Linked DNA regions of Homo sapiens: region 2 is linked to region 1. Evidence: promoter capture Hi-C in 16 types of primary human blood cells and fetal thymus (Javierre and others, 2016). All regions are on one chromosome and are shown on one strand. Each heading gives the region's core, a stretch centred on a gene start or on the middle of the fragment in contact. The rest is flanking DNA. Distances are from core to core; before and after follow the strand shown.

The links. The method cuts DNA at HindIII sites, captures the fragments that hold promoters and counts their contacts. A CHiCAGO score of 5 or more calls a contact.
Region 2: a contact is called between a fragment that was not itself captured here and the fragment with the promoter of PCGF5 in region 1, in 4 of 17 cell types (total CD8 T cells, naive CD8 T cells, naive CD4 T cells and 1 more). The highest score is 7.4, in total CD8 T cells.

The regions. Positions count from the first base shown.
Region 1 is chr10:91,218,315-91,223,635 of GRCh38, forward strand. PCGF5 (polycomb group ring finger 5) reads left to right here and starts at 2,349. Exons shown (of 10, transcript NM_032373.5): 1 at 2,349-2,522; 2 at 4,375-4,669. The coding sequence starts at 4,558. RefSeq lists an enhancer at 1,889-1,958 and silencers at 2,149-2,458, 2,529-2,988, 2,678-2,972. The HindIII fragment of the contact is 12,523 bases long and covers 1-5,321 here.
Region 2 is chr10:91,158,413-91,163,733 of GRCh38, forward strand. It overlaps a transcript of PCGF5 not described here. Among named protein-coding and RNA genes, the nearest start is that of PCGF5, 60 kb to the right of the region's middle. RefSeq lists silencers at 4,066-4,155, 4,256-4,925, 5,126-5,321. The HindIII fragment of the contact is 4,422 bases long and covers 1-4,198 here.

The DNA of each region.
Region 1 (5,321 bases), core at 1,099-3,598:
CCTGCCTTTTTTTTTCCCCTGGTCCTATATCCAGTTGCTTCCAGGCCTTTGTTTACTTGAGGGTCCCACTGGTACTTGAGATTTGTTATCAGAGCTACCCCCTCATGTTGTAGCTTCCGTCATTTGTCCTCTGCCCCCACTGGCAGTACCAAGGGACTAGACTAGGATAAGTAACTGGTAAGGAGCCCCAGGGGAGAAGGAGAGGCAGCACAGCAGCTGAAAGTCCCATGTTTTAATACTTACAATCTGCATACACATCACACAGGAAAGTTGCCATTTCACAACACTCCCTCTTACCATTACTTTTGTTATTATTCTTATTTTATTATTATTATTGAGACAGAGCCTTGCTCTGTCTCCCAGGCTAGAATGCAGTGGTGCGATCTCGGCTCACTGCAACTTCCACCTCCTAGGTTCAAGCGATTCTCCTGCCTCTGCCTCCTGAGTAGCTGGGACTACAGGCGCATGTCACCATGCCCGGCTGATTTTTGTTTTAGTAGAGATGGGGTTTCGCCATATTGGCCAGGCTGGTCTCAAACTCCTGACCTCATGATCCGCCCACCTCGGCCTCCAGAAGTGCTAGGATTACAGGCATGAGCCACCGTGCCAGGCCTATTATTATTTTTTTAACCAGACAAATGTTTGAGTTTTTAAACTTGTTTTTATTTTGTGTATGTGTGCATTTTTTTAAATTGGGGTGGGAGAGATGGAATGGTTGCTGAAGAAGGCAGAGGCGAAACCACAGAACACTTAACTGCAAACTATTGCTGCCTCTCCAGACACAAAGCACAGATTGCCTTATAAAAGTTGTAGTTCTCCCTCATCCCAAGTCCATTCTGGCAACCCCACCTCCACATTCATCCTCAGGTACTGCTGTATCACATGTTTGTGACCCCTTCCTTCATTGCTAACATATGTCATCCTAAAACCCGCCTTCAAGCTCGTTTCCTTCAGGAATACTGATTAACCGCACTTGTGATAGGTCACCAATCACATTTAAGCCCCCTGGACTCCACTGTTATTCTTTTAAAACATATTTAAAATAGTTTCAGACACAAAATAGGAACATACCAAGTCTTTTTTATATATTGTGGTATATATACAGTAATATCCTCCAATGCATATTTTAAACACACTAGAAGTAGTGTGATTTTTCACATACTGTTCTGTTTAGTCTCTGAAATGAAAGATATGAAGCATAAAGAGTAATCCTACTGCCATGAAGTCATTTGACCTCACTTGTTTTCTCTTACTCATTGTGATTGCTGCGACTTATGAAGTTGATCCCAGCTTGGACATTGGCATGTATGATTTTGGAAAATGGTTCTTTAAAGGACTATACGAATGTGGTCATTTAAAGCTGTTTCAGAAAATGTATTGCTCCTGCTGTGATATTAGAAATGGCAATTTTTAAACATGTCAAAGTTTGATTATAAAATGGATAGTTTAAAAAGCTGCCTTGGTCTACTGCTTGATGCATTTTAAATTTGAAATGGATCTTTGAACACTTGTATGGCTGCTGGACTAGCGGTTGTTAAGTTTGTTGGTTTGCCACTTAGAGTCATCTATCACTTTAGTAAGAAGTTAACGCCTATCAGTTGGAGAAAAAGCAAATATTTTGCATTGACAGTCTCCCCTACCCTCTATTATTGTCATTTTCTTAAGCCATCACTGCTCTGGCTTCTAGAATACACATTTTTGAATGAAGGTTTTTGCAGTGAATGGTCTCTTGTAGATCTCAAAGTCCACTAGAAAGAGTACTGGGTTTTTGTTTGTTTTGAACGTTGCAAACAGTAATGCTTCTTTACCACTCACCCTCCCCCCACCCTCAACCTCCACAACGTTCCCGTTTGCTTATAGTTGTCAACGACCATGATCTCTGGACCCACACTACAGTAACAAGTTTGTCAGTCATTTTCAGATAAGGTGCAAATCAAGGGATGGCTTTGTCCCCACTTCGGCGCAGGTGGGACAGACTTGGGGAAGACGCAGCTGAAGAGACAAATTCTCAGGGTGCGTCAGTCTCATCACTGACCGTTGCTTTTAAACCCTCCAGGGAAAATATGCCAGTCATTGTTATGATGTAAACAACCGAAGGGGTGGACGGTGAGGATAAGAAGAACCGAGATAATATTTGGCCAGAGCTACGTGTAGCACAGGGAGCCAGGGCGGCAGCTGCACCTGCGAGCAGCGCAGGCGGCAGGCGCGGCCTCCGGGCGTGGTGGTGGGCGTGGCCGGGCGGCGGGGGCGTGGCCGGGCGGCGGGGCGGGCGGTGCCGCCGGTTGGAAGTGGGTGGAGTTGCCCTTGGAGGCGGCACCGGACCTGGGCCCCGAGGCCCGCCGCGCCCTGTCGGGCCTGAGCCGAGTGGCCCCACAGAGCCGGCGCGCTCCCGCCTGCAGGGGGAGAGCAGACGGGGCGCGGGGACCGGCCAGGCCGCGGCGGGTGCTGTTTCTGTTTCACTTTCCTTCACTCTGAGGCCGGCGCGCTGGCGGGCGAGGAGCGGCGGCGGTGGCGGCCGCTGGGTAGGTACCGGGCGGGCTGGGGAGCTGCAGGGACGCCAGACTCCTCACCCAAGTTTGCGCCTCAGGCGAGAGCGACACCTCCAGACACCTGCCCTGGCCGGCCCAGCCTGGAGCCGGGAGGGCCCTTCGGGTGCAGGGGGCTACCGACCCGGGCGGGGGCTTCGGAGCTGTGCCTACCTCGGCGGGGAGAGCGGCCGGCTGCGGACGCCGGCCCCGGGAAAGGCTGCTCGCTCTCCCCGGCCTGAGCAGCGCGCCCGCGGGGCCTGGGCCCGCGCACCTGCCGGGCGGGCGCGGCTGTGCTGGGACCCCACAGGGCTGTACCGCTGGGTCCTGCCGGAGAACGCAGAAAAGTTCCCCCTTGCCCCCGCCCCGTCATTGCAAGTTCTTGCTTCCCTTAACTGTCTTGGTCACAGGGCTCTGTGCCTTAGGATCTTAGTACCACCCCAGGTCGGGACCGTGCATTTCCTCTTCCAGAGGACTTTCTCTTACTTTGGAGTTTCATGGCAAACCTGTGGGAAAGGCAAGGCAGTTAATCCCAACTTATAGAGGAGGAAGCCGAGACCCAGGCTCAGATATGAAACGGTTTGCTGAAGGTCATACAGGGGTAAGGGCCAGAACCCTGATTCCCTGTCTTTTAATTATGCTTGCTTTCTGTTACACGCACGAATACGGTTTCCCAAGAGGATAGGATGATTACACGTAGAGCCTATTCCCTGCACATTCGCAGTGGGTATGTGTTGATGGAATGCCTTTTACCTTTCCGGTTGCTTTATATTTACCAATGAGTTAACAGCTAAGATGGGGGAAAGTTCCTGTTTATAGAATGCACTTAGGAAAATCAACACCTTTCATGTTGTGTTTTCTGAGAGGATACATATTTTACAGTTAAAAAAAAAAAAAAACCTGAGACAGGAAAGTAGCATTATCCAGGTTATATATCTACTAAATATGACCAGTTTCTATTGAAGAGTTTTTGGTCTAACAAAGAAGGTAAAGAATGAACGTAACTATAAATCAAAATAAAAGGCAAATGTAATAGGAAAGAAGTAAGCATTAAAAACTAGGGAAAGATTGCACTGAGAATAGCATTGGAGAAGGGCTTGAAGGATAGGTGGCATGCAGACAGAGGAGAGAAAGGGCGTGTTGGATAGAGTGCTTAGAACCTGCAGAGGAGACGGTGGGAGAGGAGTGATCCCTTCAGGTTGAAGAAAGTTGTTGAAGGGTATATTAAGGTTAACCTGTAGAAGGTCTTATGTGACAGAATGGGAAACATTTTTCTGTTTGTAAAGAGAAGACACTGACATTCGTTGATAAGAAGACCCAACCAAGTGTCACAAAATAAAATGTGCCTCGTAGCAGAATATAAGATGGACTGCAGGTGGAGAGGTGATATACAAGTAGAGCAGCCGGGCATGGAATAGCAGAGGATATCAACTTGGTTTGACTCGTAACTGGATGAAGGGTTAAAAATGGAAATGGGGAACATTTTGATAGGGAGGATAATTACTTAAGTTTTTAATCTTTTAACTTGTATTGGCAGGGACTCCTAATAGAGCAGTCAAGCAGATAGTTAAAATGCATTAGTGAAGAGGTAAAGATATCAAACTGTAGTTAATAGCTTTGGGTGTCATTAGTATAGAGGTGGTAGTTGAGGTTCCAGGACTGGATGAATTTGTCATTATTCTGAATTATAGCAGATTTGCAAGTTAATGATACAATGAAGGATATGTTCTATTCACCTATTCACCCAATTGGGAACATGTAACACTTGCTGTTAATAGAATGACATTAATACATTATGAGGAATTTGACGCTTTTTTCTCTCATCTTTTTGAAATGATTTTGGAAACAGACATGGGAAAGCGGAACCACCAAAAGGAGTGATGATCAACGATCTCATGATAAATCTGGATGCTAGTTCTCATGCCTCAGGACATCCTACTGGGAACGACACACCAGCTCCTGGGATCAGACTTTCATCTACTTAGGACCCCTCTTTGCCCAGACTACTAAAGCCAGTCTTCACTAGCCACGAATGGCTACCCAAAGGAAACACTTGGTGAAAGATTTTAATCCTTACATTACCTGCTATATCTGTAAAGGGTATCTGATCAAGCCAACAACAGTGACGGAATGCCTCCATACATGTAAGTATTCTTTTAGGTTATTATACCTATCAAAGTTTATATGTACATTTTGTTCTTTTAAAATTGCCATGTTTTGTTTTTATCTATGTTGTAACTTTTAAGAAATGAGTATTCTAATAATTATTTTAACTTTGAATTTTCAGAATATTTGTCATTGGGTTGCCAGTGGCATGAAATTTTGCTTTTATTTGAATCTCAGTAGTTGACTCTTATCACATTGTAAAATATTCTAAAAATCATAAGCATATTATCAGTTATGGTTTTTTTAAGTGAACTATTTCAGGTTTTTTTATTTTAAAAATTTATACTCAAGGAATTAATCTCAGAGATTCTTTTAGGATATGCAGACTCTTAATTCGCTGGTTCTCAAAGTGTGATTCCTAGACTAGCAGCACCAGTGTCATTGCAAGTTCTAGGAACTTGTTAGAAATGCAGATTATCAGGCCCTACCCTAGATTTAATGAGCCGGAGACTCTGAGAGTGGGCCCAGCAATCTGTTTTAACAAGCCCTCCAGGTGATTCTGAAGCATGCTTAAGTTTGAGAATCACTGTTCTAGTAGTAGTATACCTGTGGAGCTCCTAGCAGATTTCATTCTCAACTGTCCCATTGGAAGAGGAAGAGGCATTTTTTACTGCCACTTATGCCAAGATT
Region 2 (5,321 bases), core at 738-3,237, 60 kb before region 1:
AGACAAAGATTTGAAGGGGGAGGAGGAAGGGATTCCTTTGGTATTTGGTGCAGCATTACTCAAGTCAGTCAGTTCAACAACATGTGGCTGCCTATTATACTCCAGATATTGAGCTAGGTTCTAGACATTAAAAGGCAAGTAAGTTGTGGTTCATTGCCTCAAGATGCTTATGGTCAAGAGAGAGTGGACTACATAAAGGTCATGGGGCTGGAGGAGTTTTGAAAAGTGGGACCAGCGACTAGGTAAAAAGGAAGAGGGACAAAGAAATTTGTTCTCTTCCATCACAACTTTGTTGAAGAATTAGATACCCCAAACAATGCTTTTTCTTGGTCCCAGTGAATCCCCCTAAGGAACTACTAAAATTTAAGCTGGTAGAGTTGACACCCTGTAGGCTGAAGAATAACAGATAATTTGAATATCTTTAACTCAATATTTTTGGCCCTTTGAAATTTAAATTAGTAAAATTTTACTATATCAGAACTTGTAACCTAAACAGTTGACTATAAAATACAGGTTTGCTGATAATTTTTCCTGCTCCCTTTCTCCCCTGGAACTTCACAGTATGCTAAGATTGCTGAGGACTGGTGGGGGGATCCAGGGCTAGCAGAAGCAGGAAGCAGGAAGCAGGAAATGTAGAGAAATTGGAGCTAGAAAGATAACTGAGCACTTCTTTAAACAGCAGACTAGAGGAGCACCATATCTTCACAGATGGTGTTAAACAAGCATCATAAGACATAGCTTCAAATAATGCAGGGAACATACAATTAGGGCCACAAAAACTTGGGGTACCAGTTCTAGTTCTGGTATTTACTAGCTGGATAGCCACAGGAAGTCATAATTTTTTTTTGCCTATATTTAATGAGTACTGTCTATATGCCAGGCACCTATAACATGTCTATAATTGACTGAATGTTCATGGCTCCCCTCAAATTCATATGTTGAAATCCTACCCTCCAGTGTGATGGTATTGGGAGGTGGGGCCTTTGGGAAGTAATTAAGTCATGAGAGTGGAGTCCTCATTAATGGGATGACTGCCCTCATAAAAGGAACCCCAGAGAGCTCCGAGGCTCAGTGTCTTTTCACTATGTAAGGATACCATGAGAAGTCAGCACTCCAGAGGAGGAAGAAAGGCCCTCAGCCAACCCCTGACTGTGCTGGCACTCTGATGTCATACTTCCAGCCTCCAGAACTGTGAGAAATGAATGTTTGTTGTTTAAGCCACCCAGTTTATGGTAGTTTGTTATGGCAGTCTGAACTGGGCAAGAGTGTTTTACATATGACGATATTTCATTCTCATGACAACCCACTGAAGTAGATTCTATCATTTTTCTCTATTTTATAGATAAGAAAACTTACCCACAGATAATTCAAGGTCAGATAAACTAAAATTTGTTAAAGTAGGGATTTGAATACAGGTAGTCAAACTCTAATGCCCATGTTTAATCATTATGATATCCCAGGTATTAAGTCTTTTGGGCTTCAGTTCCCTCACTTAAAACTGGACACGTTGCACCAAACAATGTTGAAAATTCTTTCTGGCTTTAAACACTATGATTCTAATTATATAAATCATATCTATATTTAATACGCTCATGGTTAATCTGTGTTTCGGAATAGTCTCAGAGAACTGAGAGCTGAAGACAAGTTTCTGAAATATGGCTTCATTTCTTAGTTATCCCTTGTTTCAGTCAACGTAAACCACATAATTTACTCTTCCACCAAGAATACCCTTCCTCCATTTCCATCTGTTGAAAATCTATCCATCCTTCAAGTGCCAGCTGAAATGCACCTCCTCTAAATAGCCATTCTCAGTCTTTGGGGATTTAAAGTGCGGATGTATTAGACTGTTGGGCGTTGGGATTTGGGCGAAGTATCTGTGCTAATGAAAGGAAAAGATGTAGGATAAGAAGAAAGGTTGCAGGGAACCACGTACAGGAAAGGTAAGAGAACCGTCAGCAGTGTTGTTGGTGACGGGCACAAAGCCTTCCTTGTGACAGGCAATAGCAAAGTCACCAGATTATATTAAATGTTGCCCAGCTAGTAGGAGTGAGATGAAGATTAAATGAGAACGTTTGTAAAATATCTACTACACTGTCTGGAAGGGCAGCAACAGGATAATTCCTAATCTCTTCCTTCCATAGGCAACTGGTCATCTCCTTCATGCTGAAGAAAGCTGCCATCCTGCCCAGGGAGGAGTAGGACAAGAAGAGGGGAGAAGAGACTCTGGGGGGGAAAAGAAGTCAGGCGGAGATATATGGGAACACAAAGAAAAAACGAGAGCCAGAGTACACAAGACGAGACAGAAAAAAGAAATGTAAGGGAGTGACGGCGAAGAAGAGGATAGAACGGTAATGGAAGCAGAAGGGCAAAGAGGGACAAGTAAGAAGGAGAGAATTCTAGGCCTCGGGAAGAGAAAGTTCCTGCTGCACTGCGGAATCCGGCCTAAAGGAAGAGGCAACCAGGTGCAGCACCCAAGCCCAGGTGCCAGTCATTTGCCGCTGGGCTCTCAGACCCATTCTCCTTTTGCGGCTGTCACATATTCTGTAGGGATTCTGAGCCCTGCCCTCTGTCATCTTGTCCACTGGCTTCTCCTGCTTTCCACCACTGGGTGGGCTTGGAGGGTGGGAGGCAGGGAGAAGCCAGGGGGACTCTCATCCCCTACTTTGGAAGATGTCTGCCGCAGTAGTTGCACTAACTTTGTGGCTCCAACTCCTATTGGACAAGCCCTCCAGGGTTCCGGCTGTCTCCTCTCTTTGCCCCTCCAGCCTCAGGGGAGAAGGCACGTCCAGCAGTTGCTAATCTCAGGATTGCCTCACCTTACCCTAGTTGAACGTCCAGTTCTTTCAACACTTGTAACTAATTTGCTGCATTAAATTATTGCTATTGACTCGCTTGGGAAAGAATACTTTCGCTGGATTCACTTGCAGAGTTCAAAGACACTTTTCCTAATGGGACTGCAAGCAGCGCATCGGAGAAAAAAATCTAGCAGTCCCAGGAGTCAAGAAGGGTCAGGGTCTACTTCAGTGTGTGATCAGACAGCGACAAACCCACACTACCTAACAGGGCCGGAAGGCTCTTAGCCTAGGAATTAGCTGTAAAATGACTGGGTTCATGTCTACTTTTTCATGATTTACTCTATTCTCTTTGATCACCGCCAGCCTTGGCTTAAGGAACATCTCTGTAGAATTCAATTTTATTCCTCAAGGGTTACTTAAGTGCCCATTATGAGTATGGAGGGCACATAGCTAGGTGTGGTGGGGAGGAGATATAGAGACGCAGGAAAAATGGAGGGCATGCTCAGTTTTTGGAAGTGTTTGCTTCCTGCAAGATGAGGTTTGCGGACCTATCAGGAGAGCCTCTTGATAAAGACTCCTGAACTTTTCCAGTCTCACCAGAGCTGCAGACACTCGGAGGCAATATTAGTCTTACAGCTTTCATTTCTCCCATCACCAGAGCTCTGTTAAAAGCAGACTCCTCTTTAAGGAATCCACAGATCAGAGAGGGTACAGCACATGCACACAACTGACCCCCAGGTCAGAATGATGCCAGCCACAAGGGGGGATTCTGCTTGGGGGAGCAGGAAGACTGCACAGAGATGGTAGGAGACGGCTACAGGAGCTGAGTCCAACAAAGTTTGACAGGTGGAGGCGGCTAAGGGGTATTCTGGCAGAGAACAGAGAAGGATCAAAATAAAGTGTCAAAGGACAGACACATTTCAGGTGTTGTCTGTAAACGGAGGCTTTGGGGTGAGGGTAGGGAAGTGGAGGGGAGACTGAAAAATGGAGGCCCAGCTATTGAGGACTCTGAGAATGAGGCATTAAGGCTCGAGGCCATGGTGAGTCACTGGAGGATCTTCAGCATCAGGGCGGCAAGGTCACTTCTGGTGGGGTGGCGGGGGTGGGGTGGGGTGGGGGGACTTTGCGATTAGAAGCAAAGAAGCTGGAGGCAGGAAAAGAAACTGCGAGCTCTCGGGTGGAGGGCAGCTTATACGGGAAGCCTGGACTTGACCATCGCCAGGGAGGCATACTGACATTCGAGCTGCCTTCCATCTATTCAAGGGCACGCTTCCTCCGTCTGTGGGGGGAGAAGGTGCCCCCTCAGAGGCTGTACGATTCGAAGTCTCCGGCCTGAGAAGTTTCGAATTTCTCCTTGCCAAGGTCGGGCCACTACAGGTGGGAGACTGCGAGCCCCGAGCGAAAGCTTGGCTTCACGCCCGCCCGGGGCAGCCGCCGCGGCTCGTCCCCTCCAGGCCTGGGCACCGCCGTGGGCCGTGCCCGGCAGGACGCTCCGGGAGCTGCGCGGCGGCGGCTCGAGGAGGCCTGGCGGGCGGCGGCGAGAGGCTGTGCCCCAGTTTGTGTCCAATCAGGGAGTGCGGGCTGTGCCCCGAGCCGGGCAGCAATGCGTAAACAAACCCACGGTAACTCCTCCGCCCCCTCGGCGCGCTCGCCCCGCGCCCGCCGCCGCCAGCGCCGCCGCCGCCGCCGCGGGCTCTGCTCTCCTCGCGCCCGCCCGCCGGGCCGGCCCAGCCCCCGCCCCGCGCCGCTCGCACCCCCGCTGCCCCGCCCCGCCCCCGCCGGCGCGGGCTCCCTCACCTACCGCCCCACGCGCGCGCGCTCGCGCACCACGCGCCCCGCGCGGCCCGCCCGGATCGTGGCCTCTCGAGAGCAAGGTAAGGGCGATGCGCGGGGACCCAGGCGGCTTCCCCGCCCGACGCGGCCCAGGGAAGTTTCTGGCGTGGCTGTTTTCCGCGGGGCCGGGGGGGAGGCCCCGGGAGCCAGGCGAGCCCGGCGGGCGGGAGGGGGCCGCCTGGCGCCCCGGGGTCACAAGTTGCCTAACCTGACCTCGGTGCGGGCCGGTGGGCGGCGCGGCCGGGCTGGCGGCGCGCGGAAAGGGGCTGGAGGCACGGCGGGGCCGGGCGCCGGGCGGGCAAGGGGAGGGCCCCGAGGAACTTTCTCTTCCCCAGAGGGGCGCCTTCCAGTCCTGGCCGCGGCCCCGCCGCGGGAGCAGCGGCTCCCTGGCTGGAGGGAGACCATGAAATGTGTTCGAAGAAGCTGACGCAGTTTGTGACGCTCGCGGCTTCCTGATGGGGACCGGCAGCAGCGGCGCCTCCGCCGAGGAGGGACGACCTGAGTCGGCGCTCGGGCCCTTCCCCCGCCGGCAGCCGCGCGCCCCGGCGCCTAGTTTGGGGGCCGCTGGCTCGGGGCGCGAGCATCTGCTCCCGGCTGCGCGCGTCGCTTCCGTTTTGATTAGCTCAGGTTATTATATAAGATGTCACGGAGAGGAAAGGGGCGAGCGAGAGGCGCGTTGGGGAGGGCGCGGTG